Linked DNA regions of Homo sapiens: all the other regions are linked to region 2. The links are contacts of gene promoters, found by promoter capture Hi-C in blood cells and fetal thymus (Javierre and others, 2016). All regions are on one chromosome and are shown on one strand. Each heading gives the region's core, a stretch centred on a gene start or on the middle of the fragment in contact. The rest is flanking DNA. Distances are from core to core; before and after follow the strand shown.

What was found. The method cuts DNA at HindIII sites, captures the fragments that hold promoters and counts their contacts. A CHiCAGO score of 5 or more calls a contact.
Region 1: a fragment that was not itself captured here is called in contact with the fragment with the promoter of CD96 in region 2 in 5 of 17 cell types (naive CD4 T cells, naive CD8 T cells, naive B cells and 2 more); the score reaches 6.6 in naive CD4 T cells.
Region 3: a fragment that was not itself captured here is called in contact with the fragment with the promoter of CD96 in region 2 in 1 of 17 cell types (naive CD8 T cells); the score reaches 6.5 in naive CD8 T cells.
Region 4: a contact is called between a fragment that was not itself captured here and the fragment with the promoter of CD96 in region 2, in 4 of 17 cell types (activated CD4 T cells, naive CD8 T cells, total B cells and 1 more). The highest score is 6.2, in activated CD4 T cells.
Region 5: a fragment that was not itself captured here is called in contact with the fragment with the promoter of CD96 in region 2 in 1 of 17 cell types (non-activated CD4 T cells); the score reaches 6.6 in non-activated CD4 T cells.
Region 6: a contact is called between a fragment that was not itself captured here and the fragment with the promoter of CD96 in region 2, in 10 of 17 cell types (naive B cells, naive CD8 T cells, non-activated CD4 T cells and 7 more). The highest score is 18.5, in naive B cells.

Annotation. Positions count from the first base shown.
Region 1 is chr3:109,719,626-109,723,351 of GRCh38, reverse strand. All of the region lies in intron 2 of LOC124906267 (a long non-coding RNA gene), which reads right to left. Among named protein-coding and RNA genes, the nearest start is that of MIR4445, 120 kb to the right of the region's middle. The HindIII fragment of the contact is 2,886 bases long and covers 710-3,595 here.
Region 2 is chr3:111,540,054-111,543,900 of GRCh38, reverse strand. CD96 (CD96 molecule) reads right to left here and starts at 1,704. Exons shown (of 14, transcript NM_005816.5): 1 at 1,592-1,704. The coding sequence starts at 1,652. LOC105374039 (a long non-coding RNA gene) reads right to left here. Exons shown (of 3, transcript XR_001740846.1): 3 at 1,898-1,966. The HindIII fragment of the contact is 7,700 bases long and covers 176-3,847 here.
Region 3 is chr3:110,329,410-110,332,915 of GRCh38, reverse strand. No RefSeq gene overlaps it. Among named protein-coding and RNA genes, the nearest start is that of MIR4445, 730 kb to the right of the region's middle. The HindIII fragment of the contact is 6,518 bases long and covers 1-3,506 here.
Region 4 is chr3:110,309,046-110,312,745 of GRCh38, reverse strand. No RefSeq gene overlaps it. Among named protein-coding and RNA genes, the nearest start is that of MIR4445, 710 kb to the right of the region's middle. The HindIII fragment of the contact is 1,513 bases long and covers 1,461-2,973 here.
Region 5 is chr3:109,806,225-109,809,616 of GRCh38, reverse strand. All of the region lies in intron 2 of LOC124906267 (a long non-coding RNA gene), which reads right to left. Among named protein-coding and RNA genes, the nearest start is that of MIR4445, 210 kb to the right of the region's middle. RefSeq lists an enhancer at 1,617-2,816. The HindIII fragment of the contact is 7,875 bases long and covers 1-3,392 here.
Region 6 is chr3:109,736,952-109,740,906 of GRCh38, reverse strand. All of the region lies in intron 2 of LOC124906267 (a long non-coding RNA gene), which reads right to left. Among named protein-coding and RNA genes, the nearest start is that of MIR4445, 140 kb to the right of the region's middle. The HindIII fragment of the contact is 1,213 bases long and covers 930-2,142 here.

The DNA.
Region 1 (3,726 bases), core at 903-3,402, 1.8 Mb after region 2:
GATAAGTGTTGAAACACACACACACACACACACACAAATTCATAGCCCTCACCTCAAAATCAGAATTCAGTCTAAATCAAAATCAATAAATGTTTATTGAATAACTTTTATGTGACAACCACTATCTAAATACATCTTAGGCATTTTCTCATTATTATTTACATGTATCTTTGAGATAAGTACTATTTTTTGTCACTTTCTATAGGTAGTTTACCTTCTCAAGGTCATCTTATTGTTGAAGCTGGCTGCTAGAATCCTTGACATTTCATCTGTATTCTAATAGGAAGAAGACAACCACAAAGAAAAGTGTGGCTGCTGTTTTTAGAAACATTTCTTAGAAGTTGCACACACAATTTCAGCTTACATCTCATCATCTAGGATTTAGTCACATGTGTACACCTGCAGCAAGGAAGTCTGGAAAATGGGGTCTTTATTATAGATAGACATTTACCTAGCTAAAAATCAAGGGTCTGGGGCTAAGGAAAAGGAGGAAACAAATTATAGACAACTAGCTGTCTTTGCCATGGGAGGAGTTTCCCAAATTGATCTCGAGGAGGACATGATGCTGAGAAGCAGTTAACATCTGGATGATTCACAGGGATAAGGAGATCAATTCTTCCTTGGATTCCATGTACTATAGGATAATGAACCTAGAAATGAATAAGGGGAGTTTAATACTTCACTTATATATACATAGAAGGTCAAAGCTTATGGGAAAGTGAAAACAGAGAAAAGTCCTTATTGCTACTAAACTAATCATTTACACATTTCACTTTTCCTATAAAGAGGCAAAACAGTGTATCTAAGGGAAGCAAGTGTTTCCAGACACTGATTCTTGAAACATCTGAACAAATTTCTTGGTGGGACTTTACATAGGAGATATAAGTCGTGTGGCATGAAGTCCTTGTTACCTTAAACAGTTTATTCAGTAGAAAGAAATTATCTTAATTCCATTCAGCTAAGATGTAACTGAAAGGTAACCAGTCTTAGTGTATTAAAATCCCCCAAGATATGTATCCTCTAAAAAGATAAACCTAAAATTATATCTAGTAGTAGGATATTTTACATATATGATGGGGCTAAAGAGAATTCTGGTTGCCCTTCAAATTATATCTCCTGAAGGTGAAAGACCTCTACATGGAGAACTCCAGAACACTGATGAAAGAAGTCACAGATGACACGAACAAATGGAGAACCATATGCAGAAGAGTAATACTGGACCCCTTTGTCTCACCATATACACAAATTAACTCAAGATGGATTAAAGACATAAATGTAAGACCTGAATCTATAAAAAATCTTAGAAGAAAACCAAAGAAAAATTTTCTGTGCATTGGTCTAGGCAAAGAACTTGTTACTAAGTCCTTAAAAGGAAACATAACAAAAATGAAAATAGACAAATGTAACTTAAACTAAAAGCCTTCTGAACAGCAAAAGAAATAATCAACAGATTAAACAGATAACCTACAGAATGGAAAAAATGCAAACAGTTTATCAATCAAAGGGCTGATATTCATAATCTATAAGAAATTCAAATAACTCAACAAGCAAAAACAAATAACCCTATTAAAAAGTGAGGAAAGGATATGAACAGAACTTTTTTAAGGAAGATATATAAGCAGCCAACAAATGTGAAAAAAATGCTCAACATCACCAGTCATCAAAGAAATGCAAACTAAAACTGCAGTGAGATATGATCTCACACCAGTCAGAATGGTTGTTAGTAAAAAGTCAAAAAACAACAGATGTTGGAGTGGATATGGAGAAAAGAGAACACGTCTACACTGTTGGTGGGAATGAAAATAAGTTCAATCTCTTTGGAAAGCAGTTTGGAGATTTCTCAAACAGCTAAAAATAGAATTACTATTTAATCCAGCAATCCCACTGCTGGGTATCTACCCAAAGGAAAATAAATTATTCTATCAAAAAGACACTTGCAGTCATACGTTTACCAAAGCACTGTTCACAATGGCAAAGTCTGGAATCAACCTAAGTGTCCACCAACAAATGATTGGATTTAAAATGTGGTATATAGATGCCATGGAATATTACTTGGCCATAAAAAAGAATGAAATTATGTCTTCTGCAGCAACGTGGATGGAACTAGAGGCCGCTAGCCTAATGACTCAGAAGAAGAAAGTCAGAAGCCACACGTTCTCACTTATAAGTGGGTGCTAAATAATGGGTACACATGGACATACAAATTAGAATAATAATCATTAGAGACTCCAATAGGTGGACAGGTGGGAGGGGAGTGAGAGATGAAATACTACCTATTTGGTACAATGTACACTATTTGGGTGATGGGTATGCTAAAGGCCCAGACTTCACAACTACACAATTTATCCATGCAACACAACTTCACCTGTACCTCTAAATCTATACAAATAAAAAATAATAATAAAACAAATTTTACTACCCTGAGATGCATATTAAGTTATTAAAGTGGCTGTGATTGATAGATTCAGAATAGGGAATTCTGTCTCATCTTCTTAATAAATACCTCTTATATAACTGTTTTTCCTTTTGTATTACAGTGTAAGGTAGTAACCCAAGTGCTTTATACATGAACCTAACTAGGGTGGGTCTGCTGATGAGTATCATGGATAAAGGCGGATGGGATCACCATGAGCTAGTAGGAAAAGAAGTGTGCATTTGTGTATATATGTGTTCCTTATAATGAGTAAAGAGCAAAATACTTAGCTGCATTGTTTGCATGCATGTGTGCACATGCATGTGTTTATGACCACACATTTGGAACATGTACAGATCGAATGGGTAGCCATTTGATATGGTTTGGCTATGTCCCCACCCAAATCTCATCGTGAATTGTAGCTCCCATAATTCTCATATATTGTGGGAGGGACTCGATGGGAGATAATTGAATCATGGGAGCAGTTTCCCCCATACTGTTCTCATAGTAATGAATAAGTCTCATGAGATCTGATGGTTTTATAAGAGGAAACCCTTTTCGCTTAGTTCTCATTCTCTCTCTTTCCTTGCAGCCATCATGTAAGATGTGACTTGCTCCTCCTTGCTTTCTGCCATGATTGTGAGGTCTCCCCAGCCATGAGGAACTGTGAGTCCATTAAATCTCTTTCCTTTATAAATTACTCAGTCTCAGGTATGTCTTTATTAGCAGTGTGAGAACAGAATACACCATTTATGTGCTATAATTTGAAAGACCCTTCTTGGTTGCTATAAAAATACCTCCCTATTCCATTTAGCTTCAGGTTTTATCATTAGAGTCAGAAAGTTTGAACAAGAAAGCAAGAACAGTCTTTCCAAAGGTCCATGAAAAAGCATGCTATTCTGAAGCCACCCTTAGCTCTTGCTGGTAGGTGATAAAATTATCAGATTAATTAATAGACACCGGAAAGAAAGGCCAGACTGCTAGAAGGGATTGTAATAAAGGAGGTGGCTTCAGATTTAAACACTGCCTCTTCAAGATCTATTTTGAACCCATTCAATAAGATAAAACATGACAGAAGGCAAAAAGAAGGAACACTTCCCAATGTCAAGAAGGAACTCTTCATCCCTGGCACTCCCTTATCTGAAAAGCAGACCCTGCCATACCTCTGCAAAATCCCAAGCTTTCCAGGAGCAGAGTTTGAACACTGATGCTCTAGTTCAACCCTCTCACTTCACAGATGAATAACTGACTTTCTGATTGTACAGGTCAGAAGATAAGTTAGTAGAAACTTCAGGAATAGAATCATGGTCCTT
Region 2 (3,847 bases), core at 455-2,954:
ACAAGGCAGGATACAGGTTTCAGGCAAAGACAGTAAATTATTTAACCCGTGACAATTCTGAGAAAACTTACAATTTAGTTATCTTAACCAGTCAATCTTGAAGCTAGACAGAGATGGGGTAAGGTAAAACAGGAGTTACAGAAATATGTGGGGGTCTGGGGGCAGGCAAGAAGCTTGGAAGGTTGAGATAAGCTCACAGCTGCAACTTGTTAGCAATGCTGGGAGGGGCTACTTAAATTTCTTAGCCTACATATAACTTCTAAGTAACCTATACTTAATGTTAACTATTACCTATGTTATGCTTATTATTTTAAACTTTATTATTACTTATTTTATTTTATTTTCCTTCCACATAACTTCCAAACTGTCTCCCAAATTCAGTCTAGTTGATTAGAGTAAGAAATTTCACTTTCAATATACAAGGATTGAAAGGACCTCATCTAACCTTAGGTAGAGGTTCCACTTAGTATCACCTCTAATCGATGGTCTGAAATACTAGACATAAGTAGAGTCTCTTTCCCATCAGCAGTCTGACTGAGTGATACAGGACACTTAAAATGTGTTAAGCATTGAGACTGTGACATGCCTTCAATAGTGTTGGCCTCAGTTTTAGAATTAACATGGAATCCTGTTACAGAAATGATATATATTATTGTGACAAGTACCACTGAAGCTCACAAAAGGAAAAGATAAAAAGATGACAAGCAACTGAGAAGAAACAAGCCTCTTAAAAGTAAAAGTACTTGACAAATGGGAATTATCATACTTCTGTGGATGCAAAAGTTTGGTAGGCAGAGGTTAGTACAGTTTAATGTAACTTCCTGTGAGCTATCCTTTGCCTGAAAATATGGCTCTGATCCTATCTACAGCATTATATTCCAAATCTCTTTTGATTTAGAAATTCTCCTTAATATTTTCATAGCTATGTCTGAAAAGCACAGTTAATTCTTAAGACACTCAGGCTTACTATGATACTCTCATACTGTGGAATACAGAACTAATCTTGCTTCCTTCTCTTTTTAAATAGGCCCATTAGGCTCTCGTTCCCACTGTCATAAGGATTCCACTTTGTCTCCCAGGTTCATACCTACACATGCCTCATTAAAATTCAACGTGTTTTCAACTCCCAAAGACCTTAGTATTTGGATGAGAAATACTTGTTATATCCAAAAGAAAGAGAGTACTTGAGAGAGAAAAAAGTTAAACAAGGATCTCTGAGCGTTGATGGCTTTGTAATTTTTAATTTTTCCGCAGTTGTTTTGGCTACCATTTGGAGAGCATTTCATTTCCAAGAAACACAATTTGCCAATTACTCCAGAGATCCTGTTAGAAAGGAAATGGGTGAAAATGCCTCAGAGCAGTGGCACAAATGACCCATTCCCTTCTTATTTTTAGTGTTCATTAGTAATCATTTCTAGATTCTAGCATCTCTCTTATACCTGCCGCTTAAATACATAACTGAAACCCTTAGTAATGATTTGTCCTTTGGTGATCAATTTCAGCAGCAGTCACAAGGCATTTTAAATGAACAGAGGCCCCATCCGCCCCTAAAGCGGCCCATCCGACAAGAAGGGACAACTGGAAGTCTTACCCTTGACAAAATGTATCTGGATGATGTAATAGACAGCACAGTATTTCCATTTTTTCTCCATTGTCTTCTGAACACCTTACACCAGCATTTCTGTAATGATCACAAAGTCAATTGATGTTTTCAAGCAAACTCCAGCCACCCACTTCGTGCTAAAAAACCCGAACTCTACCACACACGCCTGGGTCTGTTTATCACTTGGCAAGCCCCCAGGAAATGAAACGTAGACAGGAAAGTAATGTGGTTCAGGACTGAGTATAACGTTCGACAGAACAATGTTGAAATTGTTCTCTGAAATTTGTGTATCACCTTATTTAAGAGACTTTTCAGTATCCAAAGAGTCTCTTATTCAGGATCTCTGTGTCAGTCAAGCTGCGTCTAAAATCCAAACAAAGGATATCACGCAGAGCAGTTGGCAATGTGCTTTTTATACATTTTTTTCAAGAGCACAAAGTCATTTAACAAATGTGAGCTTGGTGTTTTTCATAATAGTTTTTCTGTTCAATCTTAAGATATGTTTTCTTTCCAGAATTGCCCTGGGGTGAAAGAACAAAGAATTAACACATTTAATTTTAATAAAATCTGAAAAGTAACAGGGAATAGTGTCAGCTATCAAACCAAATTTTATTGTCTCTCCTCTTGCAGGGAAATGCACATTTCCTGGGAGTGGAGGAGTGAGGGCTACTTTTCTACCCCTCGTCTGGGAAGACGAGGGAAGGTTGGAGGTCAGATAGGGAAGTCTCCCACCAGGTTGGCTGGAGGCCATTTTTGTTCACCACAGAAGAGTTTATCCATGCCTAAGCCAAAGCAAGGCAGTAACAATCAGAATCCAAAGGCAGAGAATTCCCACCTCAGTGAGCTATTAGGCTTATTACATCTGCCTAGTTACTTCTATTTACAGAGAACCGCAAACAGGTTTCAGGAAAGTGACCCCTTGGTAAAAATGTCTGGCTATTCGTAGAACACGATGACTGTTCCCTGCTATGATTCTCTGATTTAATTGTATTAGTTTTTCAGCCTGAGATAAAATAGGCTGTCATCACCCTCCAACATTAAGAAAACAAGCATTAGACTGAGGACTACTGTAAGTTTGATGGACAAAGAATAACTACAAATAAACATGTGTGTCTTCATACAACCGTATGAATGATTAAAATATCCTGTGACCCTAATCTCATTACTAGAATATACGTACCACCTAGCAAGACCAAAGACAAATGAAAAGGCCAGTTGTAATCCTGAGATGGGAATTCTTTTCAGGTGAGGTGGAGATAATTTTCGTCAGGTTGTCATCATGTATACACCAATCTCTCCTATGCAAGGACTCGTGGTGAATATGGACGATGCTAAGACAGAAGGAAATGCTTTTGCCATTCAGGAGATTAAATTTAGATGGGAGAAGAGAGGTTTTCATGTAAATAAACAAGGGCGACTGTCTTCCTGGACGTCCAGATCACCCCCTATACCACCACTGCAAATACTTGCCATGATAATTGCCATACTTATTCAGTATTCCTCAGCTAATGATTTCTTGCAGAATTTAGATGTAGTTACTGCTTGCCTAGTCCAGTGCTCCCCAAACCTTTATTATCACCCCTTCCCAACTTCCCATGAGTTTCAGGTCACTGGGGATATTGGGTCAGGTAGTACTGACAGTGATTTTCCAGGGAAGGCCTGGGAACTCAAAGTCCTTTATAGAAGGTCAGGAAGAGACATAACTGCTCTGGGTAGCTTCATCTCTTCCCATTGCCCCTGGAAATTCTAGTAAATCAAAGTTTTATGAAGCATAGCAGCAAAAATAGTCCTGGAGATGCACTATGAAGATCCTGATTTGCACGTTGGTGTCCCTATTAAATCAGGACACATTACAAGCCTGGAGAAGGGATTCTATGATCTCGTTCCATTTTTCATATTAAGAGGAATTTACCTAAGTAGAAACCAATTCAAATATACATTTATTGAATTCTCTAAGAACAATACCCTCTTTGGGGTATTTAGACTTCTCCTATCTTTTATTGTATTAAAGTGAAACAGTTGTTCCAAAAAAGTCTGTAAACTCAGAAACATGGAAATGGTCGTTTATTTTCCAGTGCTACAGACTTACTTTCAGTAGAATTCTTGCCTCTCATTGGGGTTGGGCTACCTGAGCCATGCATTTAGTGGCTATACGGCAAATCTGTCTTCTGTGTATTGTTCAGGGCTTAGTTAATGATTCTTATATCTAGAAACTTCTATGGCCTGAAGCCATCAGATTTGATT
Region 3 (3,506 bases), core at 796-3,295, 1.2 Mb after region 2:
CTCCTCCCATCACAGGGCCAGGAGGCTTAGGATAAAATGGTTTTGTGGGCTGGGCCCAGGGTTCCCATGCTGTGTTCAGTCTAGGAACTTGATGCCCTGTGTCCCAGCCACGCCAGCCATGACCAAAAGGGGCCAAGCAAGGTACAGCCTGGGCTGTTGCTTCAAAGGGTGGAACCCCCAAGCCTTGGCAGCTTCCATGTGGTGTTGAGACTGTGGGTGCACAGAAGGCAAGAATAGAGGTTTAGGAACCTCCGCCTAGATTTCAGAGGATGTATGGAAACACCTTGGATGTTCAGGCAAAAGTTTGCTGCAGGGGCAGGGCCCTCATGGAGAACGTCTGCTAGGGCCGTGCAGAAGGATAATGTGGGATTGGAGCCCACACACAGAGTCCCTACTGGGGCACCACCTAGTGGAGCTGTGAGAAGAGGACCACCGTCCTTCAGACCCCAGAATGGTAGATCAATGGACAGCTTGCGCTGTGCACCTGGAAAATCCACAGACACTCAACACCAACCCATGAAAGCAGCGAGAAGTGGGGGGATATACCCTGCAAAGCCACAGAGGCAGAGTTGCCCAACACCATGGGAACCGACCTCTTGCATCAGCGTGACCTGGATGTGAGACATGGAGTCAAAGGAGATTATTTTGCAGCTTTAAGATTTGACTGCCCTGCTGGATTTCACACTTGCATGGGGCCTGTAAGTCCTTTCATTTTCGCCAATGTCTCCCATTTCAAATGGCTGTATTTATCCAGTGCCTGTTCTCTTATTGTATCTAGGAAGTAACTAACTTACTTTTGATTTTACAGGCTCATGTGTGGAAGGGACTGACCTTGTCTCAGATGAGACTTTGGACTATGGACTTTTGAGTTAATGCTGAAATGAGTTAAGATTTTGGGGGACTGTTGGAAAGGCATGATTGGTTTTGAAATGTTAGAACATGAGATTTGGGAGGGCCAGGGGCAGAATTATATGGTTTGTCTGTGTCCCCACCCAAATTTCATCTTAAATTCCAATATGTTGTTGGAGGGACCCCATGGGAGGTAATTGAATCACAAAGGCTGAACTTTCCTGTGCTGTTCTCGTGATAGTGAGTAAGTCTCACAAGACCTGATAGTTATTATAAAGGGGAGCTTTCCTGCAAAATCTCTCTTTGCTTGCTGCCATCCATGTAAGACGTGACTTGCTCCTCCTTGCCTTTCACCATGATTGTGAGGCTTCCCCAGCCATGTGGAACTGTAAGTCCAATTAAACCTCTTTCTTTTGTAAATTGCCCAGTCTCAGGTATGTCTTTATCAACAGCATGAAAATGGTCTAATACAATAAGTTCTCATATTTTAGCTTCCATGTATAAATAAGAACATACAGTATTTGGTTTTCTATTCCTGCATTAGTTTGCTAAGTATAGTGGCTTCCAGCTCCATCCTTGCTTCCACAAAAAATATGATCTCAATTTTTAATGGCTGCATAGTGTTCTTTGGTGTATATGTACTACATTTTCTTCATCCAGTCTGTCATTCATGGGCATTTAGGTTGATTCCATATCTTTGCTTTTGTGAAGAGGACTGCAGTGAACATTCACATGCATGTGTCTTCATAGTAGAATGATTTATATTCCTCTGGACATATACCCAGTAATGGGATTGCTGGGTCAAATGGTAGTTCTGCTTTTAGCTCTTTGAGAAATCACCACAATGCTTTCCACAATGGTTGAACTAATTTATACTCCAGCCAAAAGTGTATAAGTGTTCCCTTTTCTCCACAATCTCTCCAGCATCCGTTATTTTTTGACTTTTTAGCAATAGCCATCTGACAAGTGTGAGATGGTGTCGCATTTCTCTAGTAACCACTGATATTGAGCTTTTTTTCACGTGCTTGTTGGCTGCATATATGTCTACTTTTAAAAAGTGTCTGTTTATGTTTTTTCCGTATTTCAATGGAGTTGTTTATTTTTCTCTTCTACATTGGTTTAAGTTTCTTATAGGTGCAATATATCAGGCCTTTGTCAGATGCATAGTTTGCAAAATGTTTCTCCCTCTGTGTAGGTTGTCTGTTTACACTGTTGGTAGTTTCTTTTTGCTGCGCAGAAGCTCTTAAGTTTAATTACATCCCAGTTGTCAATTTTAGCTTTTTTTGTGATTGTGTTTGGTATCTTTGTCATGAAATCTTTGCCCGTACCTATGTGCAGGATGGTATTGCCTAGGTTATCTTCCAGGGTTTTTATAGTTTTGGGTTTCACATTTAAGTCTTCAGCCATTTTAAGTTAATTTTTTATAAGGTGTAAGGAAGGTCCCGCTTTAATCTTCTGCATATGGCTAGCCAGTTATCCCAGCACAATTTATTAAATAAGGATTCATTCTTCCATTGCTTGTTTTTGTCAGCTTTGTCAAAGATCATATGGTTGTAGGTGTGCAGCCTTATTTCTGGGCTCTCTATTCGGTTCCACTGGTCTATGTACCTGTTTTTGTACCAGTACCATCTTGTTTTGGTTGCTATAGACCTGTAATATAGTTTGAAGTCAAGTAATGTGATCCCTCCAGCTTTATTCTTTTTGGTTAGGATTGCCTTGTTAGCTCTCCAGGCTCTTTTTTGGTACCATATGAATTTTAAAATAGCCTTTTCTAGTTCTATTAAGAATGGCAGAGGGACTAAATAGTTTGTGTAAAATAGAAGCTAACAGGTCTGACAGAGCTGAATAACACGATGCAAGAATTTCACAATGGAATCACAAGTATTAACAGCAGAATAAGCCAAGTTGAGGAAAGAATCTCTCAAATAAGACAGTCAGACAAAAATGAAGAAAAAATAATAAAAAGGAACGGACAAAACCTCCAAAATGTATGGGTGTATTCATCATTCTCACAGTGCTATAAAGAACTACCAGAGACTGGGTAATTTATGAAAAGAGGTTTAATTGACTCACAGTTCCACATGGCTGGGGTGGCCTCAGGAAACTTATCTCCAGTCATGGAGGAAGGCAAAGGGGGAAGCAAAGCATATCTTCCCATGGTGGAGCAGGAGAGAAAAAGCAAAAAGGGAAGTGCCACACACTTCCAAACAAACATGTCTCCTGAGAACTCATTCACTATCATGAGAACAGCAAGGGGGAAGTCCACCACCCTGATTCAATTACCTCCTACCAGGCCCTTCCCTTGACACATGGGGATTACAATTCAAGATGAGATTTGGGTGGGGAAACAGAGCCAGACCATATTATACTGCCCCTGCACTTCCAAAATTTTATATCTTTCTCAAATTTCAAAATGCAGTCATGCCTTCCCAACAGTCCCCTAAAGTCTTAACTCATTCCAGCGTTAACACAAAAGTCCAAGTCTAAAATCTCATCTTACACAAGGCAAGTCCCTTCTGCCTACGAGCCTGTAAAATAAAAAACAAGTTAGTTACTTCCAATATACAATGGGGGTACCTGCATTGGATAAATGTTCTCACTCCAAAGGGGAGACATTGGTCAAAACAAAGGCACTACAGGCCCCAAGAAGGTCTGAA
Region 4 (3,700 bases), core at 968-3,467, 1.2 Mb after region 2:
GCCCCTGGCTCAAGGGCCACCCTCCCCCTCTCTCATCTATGGCAGCCATACCTAATCTAAAAGGCCTTTATTCCTGCTGACATGATGCAAGTCAGACCTTTTTTAACACACAGACTTAGATAGCCAATACTACCTGGCTGAAGTTTCAGAGTCACAGTAACACAATTGATTTCCTTGCTAGGCTACATGTAAAGGTGGCCAAATTCTTCCTAGTCATCTCATTGTAGTCAAATATTTCCTCAAATTAGATACTGTATCCATTCTTAGGTAGGGTAGTCATGCCACAAAAGCCAGGTCATTCCAACAGATAACATATTTTCCTGCAAAATAACTATGGTTTTCTGTATTTTTCTAAGATAGGAAGGAGCCATGTACTGTCTCAGAAACCGGTTTCAGGCTTACCTGACAGCAAACTTTTCCCAAATTGCTTTGTAGCTGTCAATCTACTCTCAATGGCAACTTAATTTTTTTTTAATTGGTAGGGTGCGAGAAAGTAGAACAGCAGGCATATCTGACGTGAGTGAAGACTACCCTTCTAATTGTCTAATGAGAAAACACTTCATTAGCATGAGGAGGACAGAGGTCTGAATCTTTTTTAACAATTAAATCTCTGCATCTTGCATGTTATTCCTCCAAGAGAATTAACATATTCTCTCTAGCATCTACTAGAATTTAACAAAGAGTCAGTGAGATTTCACAAGAAATTATTTCCTTGACACCTAGATGCCTGGGAGTACTTAATAAATAATTGAAATAACATTCAAAGAACGTATACTAAAAATACAACAGTTCTTCATTTCAAGAGATGTGTATTGAGTGTGTCCAGACTTTTGTTCTGTTAAAGAAAAATGTTTAACATTTTTTTTGAGAGTGGCAATAACCCATTTGGTAATAAGAGACAAGAAATGTGTGTGTAATTTATGCTGGTTAGTAGATTGCCTTTGTTTGTCTGGCTTGTGGCACATAAACAGATGTCAAGAGAGAGTCTCTGTGCATTAATCTGAGTATGGAAACTGCTGACATAGCAGCTAATATAGCTGTATTATCCATCTACATGCTTGTTCTTTCCTGGTTTATACAGTAGGGCTTTTTGTCTGAATATAAATCAATAGAAAGGGAACTTTAGAGCTATTTAAAATTCTAGCCACTTGCACTAAAACATGAACCCCTTTGGTTATGTAATACTTCCACACATTTACTCATTTAGCAAAACCACAACTGTCTTCCTTTCCATCATCCTGAATTTGTGGGTCCGAAAGAACGCACTTAAAAATACATTTCCAAAAAAGTCATACATTCTTTAAAAAAGGTAACTATTTTACAAACAGCAAATTATTAAGAAATTCTTTACTGGTAAAAAGATGATTTTAATAGAGTTTACCTATTAAAGCCTATAAGAAATAGCATGCTTCTTTTTCAAGCTACAGCCATGTCGAATTGTACAACTTTCCACTGAAGCTTACATGTGCTACAGAATGCAAAAATGCTACACTTTGTGAAGTACTTGAGGAATTTGTGCTTACTGGTTTCTCCAATTAGCAATTTTTTTTGGTGTACTCTTTTTTAAAAATTTTATTTTAAGTTCCGGGGTACATGTGCAGGTTTGTTACCTAGGTAAATGTGTGCCGTGGTGGTTTATAATAAAGTAATAGAAATGAAAATGTTTTGTTTTGTTTTGTTTTTATGAGACAGAGTCTTGCTCTGTCACCCAGGCTGGATTGCAGTCATGCAAACTCAGCTCACTGCAACTTCCACCTCCCGGGTTCAAGCGATTCTCTTGCCTCAGCCTCCCAAGTAGCTGGAATTACAGGCGCCCACTACCACACTCAGCTAATTTTTTGTATTTTTAGTAGAGACGGGGTTTCTCTATGTTGGCCAGGCTGGTCTCGAGCTCCTGACCTCAAGTGATCTCTCTGCTTCGGCTTCCCAAAGTGCTGGGATTACAGGCGTGAGCCACTGCACCTGGCCTGAAAACGTTCTTAAGATAAATGATGAAGTGTAAAATAAGATTCCTGTTGTTTAGGATTCTCCAGCTTGATAACTTTTTTTTGTACACACACCGTGGAAAAAAGTTGGCAGAAAATAAGTCAGGAAACAAAATATAAATTTACTTATACTAAGTTTGACCTATATGACCACAGCTTTTCCATTGCCATGTTGCAAGACTGATGAGTATATATTTATTCAAATAATCATTCTCTCTTTCCAAATAACCCCATTGTGCTGTTTCTGCTTTTTTGTTGTTGTTATTAGAATTACCTTGATATCATGCAGCGTGCTTTCTTAAATAACCTCACTGGTAAGAATGATTTATTTTCTGAGGGTGGCTTTGAGAAGCTGCTCAGTCACTTAAGGGTGGCTAGTGATAAGATGAAATGATCAATGTGATTAATATTAATTGGGACAAAATAATACAGTGATTCTTAAAGTGTGATTCCCCAGATTAACAGCCTCAGGATACCATGGGGCTCTCATTCAGACCCAGAGTGCTCTGTCTACCCTCAGAGTTTCTGATCATTTCGTTGAGGGTGGGACCTGAAAACGTACTTTTCTAAAAAGTTTCCAGGTGATACTGATGTGGTCTGGAGACCACATTTTGAGAACCACTGAAAGAATATGGGATCTTAAAATTATTATCCTGAATTCTTTTATTATTTTAAACTGCTTTTGAAGGCAATTTCAAAGAGTTCTTAAAAGTCAGTATTATTAGGAAAAGTTTAAAACCTCTTGAAGTTATTCTTTTTATAGGAAAATATTCTGTAAATTATTTTGCCTTGGTTTGTAAACAAAGCACCCCAGGGCTTTATCGCTAGCCCTGGAATGCCAGATTAACACAGCCTGGAAGGAACCAGGGTTATAGAATGGGAATACTTAGTGTCACGTCTGCCCAGCCACTTTTTCTCTGGTATCACAAGAATGGGGACAGATGATTTTGAGTTCAGCTTTCTAACCTCCAGAATGTTGCTAGAAGCTTAACGTGCATCTTTATTTTTCTATCCAAGAAAAAAAAATAAATCTGAATTAAATTTAAACATTCAACTAAGTTAAATTTGGGAGATCTGATTCTTAGGAATTGTTAAAAATCTGATCATGTGGCTTAACTATATGAAATTCTTCAAAGGACCTCCCCCTATTGGGGATTGTGTGTCTTCCCTGTGAGATACTGAGTTCCATGAGACCAGAAATCATTTCTGTCAGGAGAATTGTTGTGTATTTAGGGATTCAAATGGTACGTAGAACAGAATAGGCACCCTGTGAATTTATTTTGGATATTGGAGTCCAAGATCTTTGATACATAATGCTTTTCATGTTCTGTTCCTTTCTTAGTCTTCTCTCTATCTCTTATCACACTATACTTTGAATCATACAGAAATACTGATTTTGCTTGGCCTTTCTGAAAAGTGTCATGATCTTTGTCACCGACACAGAACCAAATGACACTATTTTTAATATTTGTTGACAAATGCTGTCATAGTCTTTGGAATACTAAGGTAGAATCAGGCCTGATTTAGTAATTTGCTACTGGGTCCTGAAGACAGGTTAGTATTTTGTCTGCATATTTAGTTTAAATGAATTATTAATTAGCAGAAATAATAACTGTTTTAGATGTAACAACAGATCATTTCATAAATCTCTCAGGTAGCCCTAATGGGAATAGTTAGTAATAGCCAGTTGTGTGGGTTTTAATCTAATCAAAATT
Region 5 (3,392 bases), core at 196-2,695, 1.7 Mb after region 2:
CTCAAGTTCTTCAGCTTTGGGACTTGGACTGGCTTCCTTGCTCCTCAGCTTCCAGATGGCCTATTGTGGGACCTCACCTTGTCATCCTGTGAGTCAACACTCCTTAATAAACTCCCCTTTATATATACATGTATTCTATTAGTTCTGTCCTTCTAGAGAACCCTGACTAATACAGCTACCCATGTTAAATGATAGGACAGAACCTTCAGGAATCAAGAACAAAATGAGAAAGGTCATAGTGAGCAAAAATCCCTTCTCTGATCCAACTGGAGGATCAATTATGCCATACCTTCCATGCTTAGTAATTACTGTATTACTTTTATTGGGATACAGTGCAGCCTAGTGTTTACAAATGTTACAGAAATCTTATGCCTCAGCTTTCTGATTAATAAAATGTGAACAATATATCTCTTATGTTAGACTATTGCAGGGATTAAATGAGTTATCACCTAAAATGTTTTTTAAAAGTGCCTAATACCTATTTGCTATTATTATTTATATTATTAGTAACAATAATTTGTAACATCATAATAGAGAAAACTTGAACACAATCTCAAACTCAGTTGGGCAAAATATAATTGTTATGGAATAAATTGTGTCCCGCAAAATTTATATGCTAAAGTTCTAAACTACAGTACCTGAGAGTGTGACAGTATATAGAGATAGGGTCTTTAAAAAGGTAATTTAGGAAAAATTAGGTCATAGGGGGAGCCCTAATCCAATATGAGTGGTGTACTTATTAAAACATGGAGATTAGGACACATACACACACACACAAAGACCATGCACACACAGTAAACACACAGGGAGAAGACAAGACAAGAAAGGCCTCAGGAGAAATCATCCTACTGACAACTTGACTTGGACTTCTAGCCACCATATTTTTGAGAAAATAAATATCTGTTGTTTAACCCATAGGGTCCACATACTTTGTTACAACAGCTCTAACAAACTAATATAATAATGCATTTCTTTATTTTCTATAAATGTACTTAATACTTACTTCTTGTCCACTTCTTGCCAAGATAGTCAAATATCTATCTCAGCAATTCTTGAGGACCCTCTACTACCAGGGTAATGAAGTATGTGAAGGTCTTAGTAGCACAATGACATAGGGTGGCTCCTGGGTCATTGGCCATCTGTCCAATGTTTACTACCTAGACACTGGAGTCTGTTCCACAGGGTCCCTCCAAATCCAGCCTTCTTCCTGACCGATGCTTCTGTGCACCACACTGAGGATGGAGCAAACTTTGGCGAGCCTGAAACCCACCAACATTCCTCCTGAAGTCTTGCTTCCTCCACACAGCACTGATAGTTAGCAGGGTCCTGCTGTGGCCTTTGAGGAATCCCTACAGTGGTTCTGTGTCCTTGCACTCCTATCTGGAGATATCACAGATCTCCAGATCTAGGAGTAAGGAAACTGGGTGTAAGGAAACTCTTCACTGTGAGTAAAAGTAATCCCTTTTCTTTTATTTCATGTAGGAGGCATTCTCTCTCTCCTCTCTTTCAAGGGCGTCTAGCACAACTTTATCAAAAAGTATAGACTTAGAAAATGAAAACCTAGGTTGGAAGTAAAACTTCAGTTTTTTCAAACTCAAAACATCCTTGAGACCAAGAAGCACAGAGTCTGGCTACCTACTGAATGAAGGATATATGAATGAATGATAGAGACATATCAATTGATATCATTAAAGATACCCTGAAGTGTTACCAGTAGTTTTTTACACAGATCCTTAAAGCCATAAATGCCGTGAATTTTTTTTTTTGACAGTCTATCTCTGTTGCACAGGCTGGAGTGCAGTGGCGTGATCTTGACTCACTGCAACCTCCACCTCCTGGGTTCAAACGATTCTCCTGCCTCAGCCTCCTGAGTATCTGGGACTACAGGCGCCCGCCACCACACCCAGCTAATTTTTTTTGGTATTTTTAATTGAGACGGGGTTTCGCCATATTGTCCAGGCTGGTCTCGAATTCCTGACCTTGTGATCCGCCCACCTCAGCCTCCCAAAGTGCTGAGATTACAGGCATGAGCCACAGCGCCTGGCCTATTTTTATTTTTTTACGTGTTTTCTTCCTCTCTCTTTCTCTTGTCAGCTTATTAACATGCTTATTCATTTGTAAAAGGTGACAGCATACCCAAGCAGAAAAGGCGAGATGTTTCTACCAGCCTGGCTCCTCTTCTCTGGCCTCTATTCTTTTGGCCTAAGAGATAGACAATACATCAAGCAAGGTCCTTATTTGCAAGCAAAATAAGAAATCAATCATGACTGAATAAATGGGAGGATAAAAAAGAGTTTATTTTAAAAACTAATAGGTAGCTCTCTGAATCACCAGGAGAGCGGAACCATCTTGCTCAGAACAATGAATCTTGAACAATGCCCCAATTGAGGCTGCAAAACTGGGCTGATGAGGAAACTACTTCTGCCCCCACAAAACTAGAACACTGAGTGTCCTAGATAATGTTGTCACTGATCTATCAGGAACACAATTGTGCTGTAACCACTTCCTTTATCAGAGAATGAGTCACTTCCCGTGTTTTTTGGTGTCACTAACTTCCTACTCAAAAACTGGTATGAGTGCATCCAATATAGAGAGCCCGAAGTATTTGCCCAAACCCTTGCTTCAAATCAGGCTGAGAACGTATCTGGTATTTTTAGTTTTTATAGTTTATATAGTTAATGTTTCTAAAGTTTAAAGTTTGCTCTTTCTCCCACCAAGATTAATCTCACGTAGAAAGGGGATGCAAATGCTAGGCAGACAAAAAGACTGAAAAAAAAAAAATCTCCACAACAGAAAGACTGACACAAAGCTGAAAGAGAAAACAAGACAGGAAGTTAGGGTACAGTTAGAAATGCCTTTGGTTTCAATTAATAAAATATCTGATTAGGTATTTTTAAAAAGTAATTTAAAAAATAGAGGGAGTCTTTTTTGTTTAGTCACAGAATGCAAAATCTGAAAGTAAGAACTTGTTGCTTTCATTAGCTCAGGAGCTCAACAATGTTAAGATTAAGTCAAAAGTTCACTTGTCCTTTTCCTCTTAATTCCAAAATGACTATTTTTGCTTCAAATCAGGTAAAAGAGAGAGAGGATAAGAAGTGTCAACAGACTTCTCTATACATTTCATGGGCGAGAATCACTGGCAACCAGTCCATAAAAAATGTATCACTGAAGCCACAAGCTAGAGAAATATTCTCCTATATGTGAAGTAACACGATCCTACAAGGTTCTTTTAAAGGATACCAATTAAAACTACTTTCTAACAAATTTGTTGCTCTTTTACTGCGAAAAGTATATGCATCCCAACCTTGAATGATAAATTTTATCAGTAAAAATCTTTATATTTTCAAAAATTTAACCATTAATTGTGTATGGACTCATACTCAATAGAAAAT
Region 6 (3,955 bases), core at 287-2,786, 1.8 Mb after region 2:
TAGAACCATCCCTTTCCCATCCCCAGGTATTAATTAGGTTAACTATTTTCTTTTTTAAGAGCTTACAAAACTCATTAAGAAGCAGACAAACTGGAATTCCACTGTCAAGTTTGTTCATATTTAAAATTATATTTACATTCAAATGCACTTTTTAAAGTTTAAAGGGCATCATTGTTTTGTAATTATTACATAAATTATATTATATCATATTGCTGAGTAGGTCGTACTGGCATTAGAGATGTGTCTAAGATTACCTCAAAACACTTTTGGCCAACATTCATCCTCATCTTTTAAGATGGCTCTAGTTCACTTTATAAATAAAACAAAGCTTTTCTAGTATTTTCAGCATGGGTGGTAACTGCTGGTGTCATGTTATCATAGCAGCAGTCTACATGTGCATGTTCATGCTTAAGAACATGTACATTAACTCACATGTTCAGAAAGCGCTTTTCTTTAAAACAGCAATTAGAGGCTCACATTCATAAAACTTTGTTTTTTTTTTAATTTTATTATTATTATACTTTAAGTTTTAGGGTACTTGTGCACAATGTGCAGGTTAGTTACAGATGTATACATGTGCCACGCTGGTGTGCTGCACCCATTAACTCGTCATTTAGCATTAGGTATATCTCCTAAAGCTATCCCTCCCCCCAACCCCCACCCCACAACAGTCCCCAGAGTGTGATGTTCCCCTTCTTTGTTTTCTTGAGAAGAGTCATATTTCAACTCCTAAATTTAGCATTAAGAGCCCTTCAATAGCGTGCCTTATACTCTTTCAATCTCATTTCCAAATATTGATTTTTCTCCTTTCTGCCCCTTCTTATCTACTTATCTTTTCTGTTGATCTTTCCTTTCTTCACACTTTTGTTCAGTTCATCTTCTCACTGGCGTAATTTCCCTCTGGCGTAATTCTATTCATTATTTAAGCTTCAGTTTGTTTTATTTTTTCAGCTTTATTAAGATATAGCTGACAAGTAAGTCATATAATTTACAGCATACAATGTGATGTTTTGATATATTTATACATCTTGAAATGATTGAATCAAATGAATTAACATATCCATCACCTTGAATAATTATCTTTTTGTGGTGAGAACATTTAAGATCTACTCTCTAAGAAATTATTACTATTAGCTAGGGTCACCATGCTGTACAATAGATCTCCAGAACTTATTTAACTTGTCTGTCTGAAACTTTGCACTCTTTGACTAACATCCCATTTTCCCTTTCCCCAGCCACTACTAACCATCATTCTACTCTCTGCTACTATAGTTCAACATTGTTAGATTCCACATATAAATGTGATTATGCAGTATTTGTCTTTTTGTGCCTGGCTTGTTTTGATTAGCATAATGTCCTCCAGGTTTGTTACAAATGACAGTATTTCCCTCTTTTTTAAGGCTGAATAGTATTCCATTGTGTATATACATCACGTTTTCTTTGTCCGTTCATCCACTGATGAACACTTAAGTTGGTTCCATATCTTAGCTATTGTGAAAAATGCTGCAGCTTAACATGGGAGGGCAGATATCTCTTTGAGAACTAATTTCATCACTTTTGGATACATACACAGAAGTGAAGTTGCTGGATCACATTAAGTCTTATTTTTTATTTTTTTAGAAACCTCCATACTATTTTTTATGACTGTACTAATCTACTATTCCTACCAGCAGTGTACAAGGGTTCTCTTTCTTTCATATCTGCCTCAATACTTGTAATCTTTTGTTTTCTTGCTAATAGCCATTCTAACAGGTAAGAAGTGATATCTCATTATGATTTTAACTTGCATTTTACTAATTGTTAGTGATGTTGAACATTTTTTATATACGTTTTGGCTATCTATATATCTTCTTTTGAGAAATGTCTATTCAGGTCTTTTGCTAGTGTTTTCATCACATTGTTTTCCTGTTATTGGGTTGTTAGAGTTCCTTATATTTGGGATATTAACCCTTATCAAATGTACAATTTTCAAATATTTTCCCCCATTGCCTAAGTTATCTTTTTACTCTATTGATTGTTTTCTTTGCTGTGCAGAGGTTTTTAATTTGATGCAATTTTACTTGTGCATTTTTGTTTTTCTTGCCTGTGCTTTTGGAGTCATATCGAAAATAAAATTATTGCCCAGGCTAATGATAAGAAGCTTTTTTCCTGTGTTTTCCTCTAGTAGTTTTACAGCTTCAGGCCTTAAATCTAAGTTTTTAGTCCATTTTGAGTTGATTTTTGTATACAGTGTGATATGGTTTGGCTTTGTGTCCCCACCCAAATGTCACCTTGAATTGTAATAATCCCCACATGTCAAGGGTAGGACCAGGTGGAGGTAATTGGATCATGGCAGTGGTTTCCCCCATGCTGTTCTTGCGATAATGAGTAAGTCTCACAGAACCTGATGGTTTTATAAGGGGCTGTAATTTCCCCTGCTTGCACTCATTCTGTCCTCCCCCTCCATTAAGAATGTGCCTGCCTCTCCTTTACCTTCAGCCATGATTGTACATTTCCTGGGGCATCCCCAGCCATGCAGAACTGTGAGTCTATTAAACTTTTTCCTTTATAAATTGCCCAGTCTCAGGTATTTCTTCATAGCAGTGTGAGAATGGACTAATACAGTAAATTGGTACTGAGATAGTGAGGCACTGCTTTAAGGATAACCAAAAATGTGGTAGCAACTTTGGAACTGGGTAATGGGCAGAGGTTGGAACAATTTGGAGGGCTCAGAAGAAGACAGGAAAATGTGGGAAAGTTTGGAACTTCCTAGATACCTGTTGAATGGCTTTGACCAAAAATGCTGATAGTGATACGGAAAATAAAGTCCAGGCTATGGTGGTCTCAGATGAAGATGAGAAACTTCTTGGGAACCGGAGCAAAGGTGACTCTTGCTATACTTTAGCAAAGAGACTGGGCAGCATTTTGCCCCTGCTCTAGAGATCTGTGGAACTTCGAACTTGAGAGAGATGATTTAGCATATCTGGCAGAAGAAATTTCTAAGCAGCAAAGCATTCAAGAGGAAGCACAGCATAAAAGTTTGGGAAATTTGCAGCCTAAGGATGTGATAGAAAAGAAAAACCCATTTTCTGGGAAGAAATTCAAGCCTGCTGCAGAAATTTGCATAAGTAAGGAGCCCAATGTTAATCACCAAGATAATGGGGAAAACGTCTGCATGGCATGTCAGAGACCTTTGCAGCAGCCCCTCCCATCACAGGCCCAGAGGCCTAGGAGGGAAAAATGGTTTCATGGACTGGGCCCAGGCCCCGCTGTTATGTGCAGCCTTACAGCATGGTTCCCTGCATCCCAGCTGCTTCAGCTCCAGCCATGACTGAAAGGGGCCAAGGTACAGCTCGGGCCATTGCTTCAGAGGAAGCATGTCCCAAGCCTTGGTGGTTTCCATGTGGTGTTGAGCCTGTGGGTACACAGAAGTCAAGAACTGAGGTTTGGGAACCTCCACCTAGATTTCAGAAGATGTATGGAAAAGCCTGCATGTCAAGGCAGAAGTTCGCTGCAGGGGTGGAGCCCTAAGGAAGAACCTCTGCTAGGGCACTGCAGAAGGGAAATATGGGATCAGAGCGCCCACACAGAGTCCCCACTGGGGCACTGCCTAGTAGAGCTGTGCAAAGAGGGCCACCGTCCTCCAGGCCCAAGAATGATAGATCGACTGACAGCTTGCACTGTACACCTGGAAAAGGCACAGACACTCAATGCCAGCCCATAAAACCAGCTGGGAGTGGGGCTCTACCCTGCAAAGCCACAGAGGTGCAGCTGCCCAAGGCCATGGGTGCCCACCTCTTACATCAGTGTGACCTGGATGTGAGACATGGAGTCAAAGGAGATCATTTTGCAAAAGTAAGGTTTAATGACTGCCCAATTGGATTTTAGACTTGCAACGGGCCTGTAGCTCTTTTGTCTTGGCCAATTTCTCCCATTCAGAAAGGGTGTATTTACTCAATGCCAGTACCCCCATTGT